2 separate regions of the Homo sapiens genome follow, and region 1 is linked to region 2. The links are contacts of gene promoters, found by promoter capture Hi-C in human tissues and cell types (Jung and others, 2019). All regions are on one chromosome and are shown on one strand. Each heading gives the region's core, a stretch centred on a gene start or on the middle of the fragment in contact. The rest is flanking DNA. Distances are from core to core; before and after follow the strand shown.

Region 1 (5,497 bases), core at 2,937-5,436, 1.4 Mb before region 2:
AGCACATTATGAGAGGAAATGACAATTTGTTCAAATCAAAAGGTTAAGAAACTAAGTGTATATTCTTATCAATATCCCTGAAGTATTTTATTTTAAAATGTTCAAAAGTAAAAAGAATAACCTTATATTATCAAAACATAATACATTAATTAAAATTATGTAGTATCAAATATACCATCAAACAAAAGTTTTTAATATTTATCTGGTATAAATATATTAAAACAGACTTAAATTTATAACAAAAATAAATATAGTTAAACATAGAAGAAATAATAAATGCATTGTATTAGCTTTAAAGAAATATAATGTGTTTGTGTAAATGTTTTCAAAAATCGTGCCCATATTTTTTAACAAACAATTTTAACTTAAATCAATAGTGTACTTTCCTTGCTCCTAGTGGTTTTGGATGTGGTTCTTGAGTATAGTCTTCTCTAATATGGCAGATAAATCAATCTGACCTTCTTTTCAACATTCACAGTTGAATGAGGAGAGTATAATTTTTCCAGTCTGCAGCTGACTTCTTTATTCATTTGTTAAGATTATGGTTAGTCTTTGTAGTGGATTCTGTGGCTTGGTTCCCTTAAACATGTATTCCAACCTCTTTCTTCTGGGACGTCTAGTACTGTAATGCTTGGAGATTAAAAAGAAAAAGTAAAGCATTTCTCAGATGTCCTTGTGGCTAAGATTTCAGTTGTGATTTGGGGTCCTCCAATCTGGTACTTTGATGGTCAACTTGAATTTTGAACTAAGTTAATTAGGATAGAGACCATAATTCTGCTCTTCAGGTGGTGACACAGGCAGCATAGACCTGAGCCACCAATTTCCTGATTTTCAGCAACTTTCTTCATTGGTAGGTGCAATGTCCCTGGGTGTAGCAGCAGTGAGACAATTTCTGGGGCTGGACACTTCTTGGATATTCTGCCTGAAGCTTAATCTGCCTTACTTTTCAGATCACCAGACAGTTTTTAAGCCACAGGAATAGCTAGTGATACGTTCTATTCTGTATTACAGGTTTCTCTCGTCTTAAATGAAACTCGAATCAATAAAGAGCCTACCTCAATTATAAATTATTCAAGGGCATTTTGATTACCCATTCCTGATGAAGGAACCCATAGATTTTCCATAATCTTTTGATTTGTCATTTAATCCATGATTTAAGTGAACATTAATAGCAAATAAAACAGCTTTTTGAATAGATTTTTAGAGAGAGAAATATTGAGAATACAAGCGGAAATGTGTTTTATCTTCTGATACTCTTTTTATAGAGAATGATAACTTTAGTGATATAATCAAGGTAAATATACACATTAATATAATCGTACATCTGTATGTACTATTTGAGTAGTTAGTGATACCAAAATTCAAAAGTAATACATTTGAGAAAGGTATGATAGTGAATTTACATTACTCTCTCATTGCCTTCATCTGTCTGGTATATAATTTATGATAATGTTCAGGCACCAATTCCTTAATAATACCTTCTCTTCCTCTCCCATGCATGATTCTGTAACCACTAAAAATATACACATGCACACACACACAAATAAACACACACACACACTGTTTCTATTTACCACTTCTGTACTAGTTATATTAGTACTTTGGTCAAAATATGTGACAATTGTTTAGTCTATTTTCTATTCTTGATTATGAGGTTGATGAGAGTGGTAACAAGTGTGTTTTTATTAACCTTTGAGTTGGTAGTATCTGGAATACTTGAAATGCTTTAAAATGCATTGGTTGACTGAACAAATGAGAAGTAGGAGAAAGGAGAATGAGAAGACAGTATATATAGTGAAATATACAGACTACTGGAGGAGAGGTCTGGACACCCATCACTGCAGTTATCTGCAAATCTACCTACTACAAAGCAAACTTCCCTTTCTGTCAGTGACTTAAAACAACAATTGATTATTTTTCAGAATTCTGTGGGTTGACAGGCCATTCTGTTTCCTGTATTGTTGGTTAGGTCTCTGGGGGAGCCGGAAGATCCACAATGGCTTCACTCACATGATTGAGAATTGGCGCTGGCTTTTATCTGAGTAAGAGATAATGGTAGACATTGAAGTTCTCTTAAGGCTCTGCCTTGGAGTTACACAATCTCAATTCCATTGCACTTTATCGGTCAAACATTGCCTTCTGGTCAGCCCAGATTCAAGGGGAAGGCAAAAAAGTATCACTTCTTGAAGGTCTAATAGTAAAGTAACATTGCAAAAGAGTGATGGAAGATACTGTTCTGGCCGTCTTTGAAAACATTCCCTTCTATACATACCCCTACATTTTTTTCTGTCTCTCTTAAGATATGAAACAATCTTCCCAGGTCTGTAGATCTGTTTCCTCATCTTGACTTAGTATATTCAATTTTAGCTGTAGGATTATATGATATAGCAATGTTTCTGTTCAAAAGGTTAATATTGAAATTTGAGCCAGTTTTGATTGTGTCTTATTTCAACTAGAAATTTATCAGACTTTTCTTCTCGGGGCTTCTGTGAGCTTCAAGTTGCATTGTAGACTACTCAAAGTGTCGTCATCAGACCACCAGTATTAATATATCATGGGAGCTTTTTTTTCCTTTTTTTTTTTTTTTTTTTAACAAATACAAATTAACGGGCTTCACTCCAAAACTACTGAATCAGAATCTGTGGCTATAATGTTCAGGAATCTGGATTTCAACCTCCTCTCTAAAAACTTCTGACATCTGTTAAAGATTGAGAAGCACTGGTATAGAATACATTAGAGGAAGTAAAACAGTAAGCAGCAATGTACAGCAATGCAAACCTGCCTACTGGCCAAAAGTCGAGGATGGTAATACAATTAAATATTCCAAATTCTCATCTTGGCCAATCACACTGGAATTCCATCATTACATATGCATTCATTGTATTTAAATCTGAGAATCCAGTGTTAAAAAACAACCCCATAAGGAGAAAAAACACAGTAGGCCATTAAAATTACAGCAGAGATGAGTTTAGTTTATTGTCTTTCTTCAAACCACTTAGCAAACCCGAAGAAACTGAATACCACACAATAAAATCTTGTTTTGAATAAAAAGCCTGCCATGAAGGAAAGATTGATCCATGTTATTTCCAGTATCCCTGAGAAAGAAGAAAGACCCATAATGGGGGTCTCTTGGAATGAGAAAAGAAGGTACTGGGTCATCATGGAAGCCCGAGAGGGGCTGACTGGGGTAAAATATCAAATAGGTAAAGAGATGAACAAAGCAAAAGTGGAGACACACCAAAGATAGAAGCTGCTCTGTCTTCACGTGGCTCTGGGCCAGACATAATACTTGTTACCATGACGATAGATTACAAAGTTGCACATGAACAATAGAAAAGATGAAGAGAGGAAGAGATGAGAGAGGAAAAGAAAGAGAGTGTGAAGGATGGAATATGAGAAGGATGTTTAGAGCTGATTGCAATAGGTCAGAGATGAGAAGACAAAAGCAAATTGTCCTTCAAGAAACAGGACCTTCTGTCTCTAGCACTCTCTTGCAATGGTCTAAAAATAATGTGGAGGCAGGAAAAAGAGAGACTGAAAACTGAAAAATATGCATACTTCTTTCTTGAGGTATCGGTTACTATTCCACCTTACTCTCAGCTGCAAGGAAAGCTGGGAAACATCCCTTGGGAGCTGTGTGCCCACAAAGAAAAAGAAAGGTAATTGAATTAATATGCAGCTGTCCCTACCACACAGATGCAAATAACATATGGTTAAAAATGAATTTTCTCAAGTCTACTCTCTGAGAGCAAAGACGAACAAATTTAGTAAAACTGTAGTTTATAAAAGATTGTGAATTTATCTTTAGTCACTTTGATATAAAATACATGCATTGGCTTTCTTAGAAGCTTGCTCAATTTCGGCTTTAGTAGTTTGCTTTTCCAAGTGGAATGTTAACTGTTATTGACATGTAGGTTCATGGCTTATAAGATGTTATTTTTCCTATCATAGCAATCTAGGTAATCTTAAAAAGAGAATGCTGATGGAAGCAAAAATTATTTAACAAAATATAATTTAAATTTGGATATAATTAAAGTTTTGAAACATGATTCTAGAAGACTGGGGAAGATTACACAGCACTTCTATGCAGATAGCTAACATATTACTGAATCTTTAAGAGAATGGTGAGATCGTTAATTCAAGTGCCACCTCAGATAATTATTAGTTAATTTAACCTGGTACTCAGTACTCTGGGACTTAGTTTTTATATCTGTGAGATACAGAAGGAGTTGAGAATTTGGAATAATTAATCCCTAGAGTCCTTTCTAACTCTAAAGGTGTAAAAGGCATAGCAAGAATAAAAGAAGGCATTAAATGTCTCATGCTCTGCCGTTTAGTAGAAACTTCCTTTCTCTTAGGTAGGACTAAATCAAAACCATTTCAAATACATTGGTATCTGTAGGCTTTCCTTTGTGAGAAAGGAAATAGAGGTGTTGGAAGCATTATGAGATAACCCCTTTATGCCTAGTGTTCCATTATTGGAATGCTAAGCTTGTGGGAATTATTTATATCCTACTGCTCAAGGTCATCATCAAGGTCTGATTTCTCACACACACACAAAAATTTGCAACCTCCAGCATAAATGGGTTAATATGCTTATCTGTAAAGCTCTTAGCATAGTCCCTGATACAAAAAGAGCTCAATAAGTTAGCTAAGTTTAGCCATTTGAAAATCATTTCGGAACACTTCACAGCCCTCAAAATTCAAAACATTGTTTCTTATTATGTTATTTCCTGAAAATCCCTCCAGATCACTTACCATTTGGACTACAACTTTATATATAAATATGTACCAAAGAGATAGGTTACCAGAAAAGGAAGAGAGACATATGTTTAGGAAGGGAGTAAAGGATAAGCAAGGTTTTCCCATTACCCTCCTTGTGGCTTACCCTTGTCTCCCTTCCTTCTTTCTCTTCTTTTCTGCAAATCCATGGCTGTTAATTAAACCAAGGTAGTCTGCTTTCAGAGTCCAGATTCCTAACCATTCTTCTTTGATGACTCTTTTTAGTATCTTCCAGAGTGCCTTGCACATAGGTACTCTGCAAATATTGCCTGATGCTAAAATGCTATTTTTAAGTTTTTGGGGGGCCTGGTTTTAAAACTTTTTGCAGGATTCAAGATATAGAAAGTTTGCAGATATGGACCAGAAGAAAGGCTTAAGATGTTTCCAGTCATCCTTATCAGTATCGTAAGCAATTTTGGAACATGTGCATTTTCTGATTCCTTGAAACCAGTATTTGTTTCTTTTGATTACTGAACAGAGCAATTGTTGAATCTTCTCTCTTATTCACCTCTATAGCCCATCTTGACTATGGCCCTCTATGACCAAATCTTGACTTTTCCTTCCCAAGTAGATGGTCCAGTTCTCTCCATCTCCTGGCATTACTCTCGCTCACTCCAATCCAATCCATTTTCCTCACAACAGCCAGAGTGATCAACTGAAAAGTACAAATAGATTTTGGCTGTACTGTGAAGGGTCAGTCATGATCCCAGCAGGA
Region 2 (5,380 bases), core at 116-2,615:
CTTCTAATCTGTCACTTTGACACAATGGGTCTTTTAAATAAATCTTTACACAGTACTGAATAATTAAGTAAATATAGTTATTGGCAAACAAAGAAAAAGAACCTTTTTGTTAAAATATTTGGGATACTCGAGATAATATAAAATGAGTAATCTCTTATTTTTCTTATGCCAAATTTAAAATCTCTTTCTTTTCTCAAAAATAACGATCTAACGATAGCCAAAAACTCCCTTAAATATATTTCAATAAATCATTGTTTCTGCACTTAAGTCTTACTGTAGGACAATACAAATCAATGAGGAAAATACGCCAGATGGAAGTGTTAGGTTTTTTTCTTTGTTCGGGAACAAATACTCGATCCGCAATTTAAAAGTCCGAAGACTCCTCAGCAGAGGGTGAGCTGATTGACTCTTTGGCTTATCAAGGGCAAATCGCATTTCTGAAAAGAGCTTGAAGTGGTTTTGTTTGTGAGGAGAGTTTGCTTTGTCCCCCACACTGAAAAGTATACAGCAAAGCCCGAGCATAGAAAATATCCTGAGCTTAAATTTCTCATTTTATTGCCATCATAACTTTTCCTCTTGGAATAAAATCCTCTATTTTATATGAGTAGGAGGTAAAGGTAGGGAAAGGAAAGTCAAGTATCTCAATTGTTACGCTGATTGCATCCAAACAGACTTTAGAAGTCAGGGTTTGTAACGTGGCAGGAGAGCTGTTTGCGATGCCCTGGAAAGAAAAGAAAGCCGGTTCCAACAGCGACTCTGGGGAATGCACTCTCGGTCCCCCTGCCATGCTTACTTAAGCTAATTGAAGGTCTTGCCTTTCAGCAGCCGCTGCACTGGGATACCAGACAAACAGCTCCCCTTGATGCCAGGCAGGCAGGGCCCCTCTTCAGGACATCATTAAAAGCACATGCACTTGCTCCACATCCATTGGCAGATGGTGGCAAGATTCAAGACTCCTACCCTGAAGTCAAGGAGAAGCCATCGCGGTGGAAAACATCCTCGCTTTGAAAATCCAACACGAAATTAAAGAACTACACGAGATAAGGAGCCTGGAGAACATTAGTTGGCTGCAGGGGTGAAGACAGACACAAAAAGCACAGCAGGTAAGAGCTGGGGGTTGTTGCCAACAAGGAACTGTCCCGGGTGGCGCAGAGAAAAGGATCTCAGAACTGGAGCCCTGTCCCTTTGAGTCTTCCATGCGTGCTCAAGCTTGTCATCTTCCATAAGCTTCGAGAGAAGGGACGTTGTCAGAGCATTCCTTATCGGTGCGACTAATCCTGTTATCAGCTTGGTTATAAATATTTAATGTTCCCTGGCCTTTCGGTGATGGTGCCCCATCAGATTCAAGGCTGTTAAGAATCCCCACCAGCAACCTCGCCCCTCCCTGCGGAAAACCGATGAGAGGCAGGGCCAAGCCGAAGCGATGGCGGCCTATCCGGAGAGCTGCGTGGACACTACGGTGCTGGACTTCGTCGCAGACCTGTCCCTGGCCTCCCCGAGACGCCCTCTCCTCTGCGACTTCGCACCCGGGGTCTCCTTGGGGGACCCAGCCCTTGCGCTCCGAGAGGGAAGACCCAGGAGGATGGCGCGGTTTGAAGAGGGGGACCCAGAAGAAGAGGAGTGCGAAGTGGACCAGGGGGACGGAGAAGAGGAGGAGGAAGAGGAGCGCGGAAGAGGTGTCTCCCTATTAGGCCGCCCCAAGAGGAAAAGGGTGATCACCTACGCCCAGCGCCAGGCCGCCAACATCCGCGAAAGGAAGCGGATGTTCAACCTCAACGAGGCCTTTGACCAGCTGCGGAGGAAGGTGCCCACGTTTGCTTACGAGAAAAGGCTGTCCCGGATCGAGACCCTCCGCCTGGCCATCGTCTATATCTCCTTCATGACCGAGCTCTTGGAGAGCTGTGAGAAGAAGGAAAGCGGCTGAGCCTGGTGTGGAGAGTCTGCCCTTCCTCGTCTGGTAGTGCTGGGGTGTGTCAGGACCGGGCACTGGGTGAGGCTAAAGGGCCGGGAGGGAGGCCCCAAGACAGAACGTCTGGTCTTCTGGAGGTCGGGGTCGAGATTGTAAGATCCCCACATGCGCTGAGCAGAGTGGCTGCTGTAGAGTTCATATCTACGCGACCGCCCTAAGTGAAGTCGGGGTCAGGGGCGAGCGGGGAAGTCAGAGAGCGTGAGGCTGAGTCGGGGCCGTTCAGGCTGCTCCTAAGAGCTTCCGTGGGCTGGGTGGGTGGGAAGTGAACCCTCCTCGCAAATGGCAGACTTTGGAGCTTCTATAAAATCTAACCTCTCTTCTTTACATTTTTTTTTTCATAGAGATAATAAAGTAGAAATTCTTACGTTTTTAAAAAGCCTGAAGGGTCGGTGGTACGCCATCCCCAGCAGGCGCTCCAGCGGGCGCCTGCGTGGAGGGTCTGAAGCAGACGCCGCAAGGGTGCGGGGGTGCGAGCTTTTCTGCTAGCCAGAGGGTTCTGCCTGGTCCTCCGAGGCTTGTCCAGGAACTGAGGAAAGGAAAAATGGAAGGCAGAGCAGTCGAGAGGAACTGCTGACAAAGTGCGACCTCTGAGAAGGGACACCCTTCCTGTCTTCCATTCCCTCTCCCTCCCGTCCCTTCCTCTCTCCCGCGCGCAAGCCCTCTCTCTTCCTTTCTCCCTCCCCTTCGCCACCTAGTTGATCCCAGACGGACCACAGCTCCTTGTCCCAGGGCCACAGTGGTGTTCATTCAGTGCCTTAGCCAGAGTGCAAATCTACGCTTTGCATCTAAAGTGCAGCATCAGCTTCCGTGTTCCAGTGCCTTCTTCAGGCCCCAGGCCAGAGTAAGGGGCGAGTGCACTCGGGTCACTCCTGGGCCGCAGGGGGCCTTGGGCGCCCTGCAGCTTCGCCACCAGCCACCGCTACCAACTGTCCCCGGCCAGGGGTTGGGGTATGAAGGGGCCTGGATCTTTCTAGGAGCAGGGCCGCCTGAGCGCGCTCACTTTTACATTTTTAGCTGTAGGTAGGAAAGATAGCTTTCACTCTAATGGCTTCTAGAGACTACCAGGGGAGACAAAAAGTCCAAAGAGGAGATGCCTTCTGACGCCTTGCAAAACGCCTGCCATGCAGATGAGGTTGAAGCGGGTCCATGCTGAGAGGCCGCCTCTAGTTTGGACCCGTGCCATTCCAGGATTCTTCCTTCTAGGTGACGTGCTAGTACCAGAACTGGGGTCTTTCAGAAAGGAGTGGGTAACTGAGGCGAGGAACCCGATTGAATAATGCCAACCTAAACATAAATTCAGTAATCCTAAAGGATAATCCCCAGTGATTATTCCAACACTTTATTTCGCCCCTCATTGCACACAGAAATAGGCGGGAGCCTGTGCGAACACACAATTCTCTTAATCATGCTTTCGGAAATAGAATTCATTTCATTAATAAGTAACATATACTCATCCTAGAAATTTTGGAAAAAAAAATTTCAAAAAAGAGAAAATTCGAATCACTCCACGTTACCATACTGTTAGCATTTTCATCTATTTCTTTCCAGTCTTTTTTTCCCTGTGCAGTTATAAATTCAATATATTTTACTAATTCGAGATACTTTGGGATACTGATATTTTTCCACTTGGCATTATAGAAGGTGCAATGTTTTCCCTTAACTTTAATATTATTCAAATGTGATTTTGATTACCATATCTTATTGTCTTATCCATGTATCACACCACCACCAGCCCTTTCCAGATAGATAGCTATTTCCTTTTTAAAAAATAAATGATGCTGCTAAGAGCATTCTTGTAAATGCCTTCTCTGTCTATTATTACTTCCTAACATTTGATACCTAGAAGTGAAATTTCTGGATTCAAGTTTGTGGATATAAATGGCCAGATTCCCTTCTTGGTGGGTTCTGCCAGTTCACTCTCCCACCCTCTAGCATTGCAGGGATTTGCCTGTTTCCCAGCCCCTTCATTAGTACTTCGAATATTTAAAACTTTTCTTAGTTTTCCTTTTCATAGGACCTGGATTAGTTCTGAAACGAGCCCCCACTCCCAAGATGTTTTTTTACTTTTACTGTGTCTTTCCACCAAGAATTTTTTCAACTGCACCGTAAGAACATCAGGATAAACAGGTAAACAAAAAAAAAATACATAAACAGCTAACACCAAACAACAACAAAGCCCCATAGAGTGTTGTTTTTTCTTATTCTTCCACCAATTCAATTTCTCCTGGAAATTAAACATCATTCTTTTTTAAAAAATCATCTGAAAGTGTTGAATAAATAAAAAGAAAAAAAAGTAATTCCAATCTAGGAATTCTTAATATTTTGCTGAAAGAACAAGTTTTGAAAACCAGAAATAAAGCAAAATTGTGTAGACCAGGGACCATCAACATTCCTAAGTCGTGAGGAGTCAGCACAGCCACCCGTTTTCGTTAGTCTTCTCCATCATATTCTAATACATTTTGTTCCTAGAAAGCAAATAATATTCCTCCAGTGAATACCTCTTCATCATAGTAAATGATACCTAAAAAACTTCTAAATTAAAAGTTATTTTCTTATTATCAACAGAGGAATTATCCACCCTTCTTAAAAAAAAAAACTTTAATCGTTTATAAATGCTTTGCTATTTGTAAGTTTACATGTTTAGGAACTGCCTCAAATGTAGTCTTTTAAGATATTTTCATAATAATTTTACTCAGAGTAATTTGAACCCAGGTAAGGATCAGAGTCACATAGAAAGGGATTGACATTCCTTTCATCAAATGCCAATAGAGGTAAGACAAAATGATCCACGTCCTGAACTTAAATCGAGTATACCTCCATATTTTGACCCTCAACTTTTCTAAGCATTATTTTAATTTTAGTTTTCCTCATGTTAGATGCATAAAATCAGTGCACCTTTAACACAAGTTTTTTGTTTGTTTGTTTGTTTGAGATGGAGTCTCGCTCTGTCGCCAGGCTGGAGTGCAGTGGTGCGATCTCAGCTCACTGCAACCTCCAACTCCCTGGTTCAAGCGATTCTCCTGCCTCAGACTCCCAAGTAGCTGGGATTACAGGCACGCGCAACCACACCCAGCTAATTTTTAATACAAGGGTTTTTGAATGTAACACCCACTACATTAAAATAGTTTTACTGTTTATTATCTCCTAAACTACCATTGATAGAAATATGAGTAGATATTGCCTTTTCAGTAACTTCAGCCAGGCTTTTTTTAAGACCTAATGGTGTCAGTTACTTCTGGAAAATTAAAATAATTTGTTTTTGAAATCTTAAAGTCATTTGAACATTTAGAATCTAAATACCATCTGAGATGTTGCTTGGAGGTGATTTATTTATATACTCTCTACTGATGGAACACTGCCTTTTGGTCTCAAACTAAGTTCCCCATAGCTATCAGATTACTATTAGTATTC

Evidence for each region. The method cuts DNA at HindIII sites, captures the fragments that hold promoters and counts their contacts. A contact is called where the count stands out against the background at its distance.
Region 1: a contact is called between a fragment that was not itself captured here and the fragment with the promoter of FERD3L in region 2, in 1 of the 25 tissues and cell types used here (dorsolateral prefrontal cortex).

The regions. Positions count from the first base shown.
Region 1 is chr7:20,508,569-20,514,065 of GRCh38, reverse strand. No RefSeq gene overlaps it. Among named protein-coding and RNA genes, the nearest start is that of ABCB5, 100 kb to the left of the region's middle. The HindIII fragment of the contact is 3,595 bases long and covers 2,389-5,497 here.
Region 2 is chr7:19,141,406-19,146,785 of GRCh38, reverse strand. It overlaps FERD3L (Fer3 like bHLH transcription factor), which reads left to right and starts at 1,365. Exons shown (of 1, transcript NM_152898.2): 1 at 1,365-2,004. The coding sequence starts at 1,424. The coding sequence ends at 1,924. RefSeq lists enhancers at 319-967, 1,433-2,632. The HindIII fragment of the contact is 11,409 bases long and covers 1-5,380 here.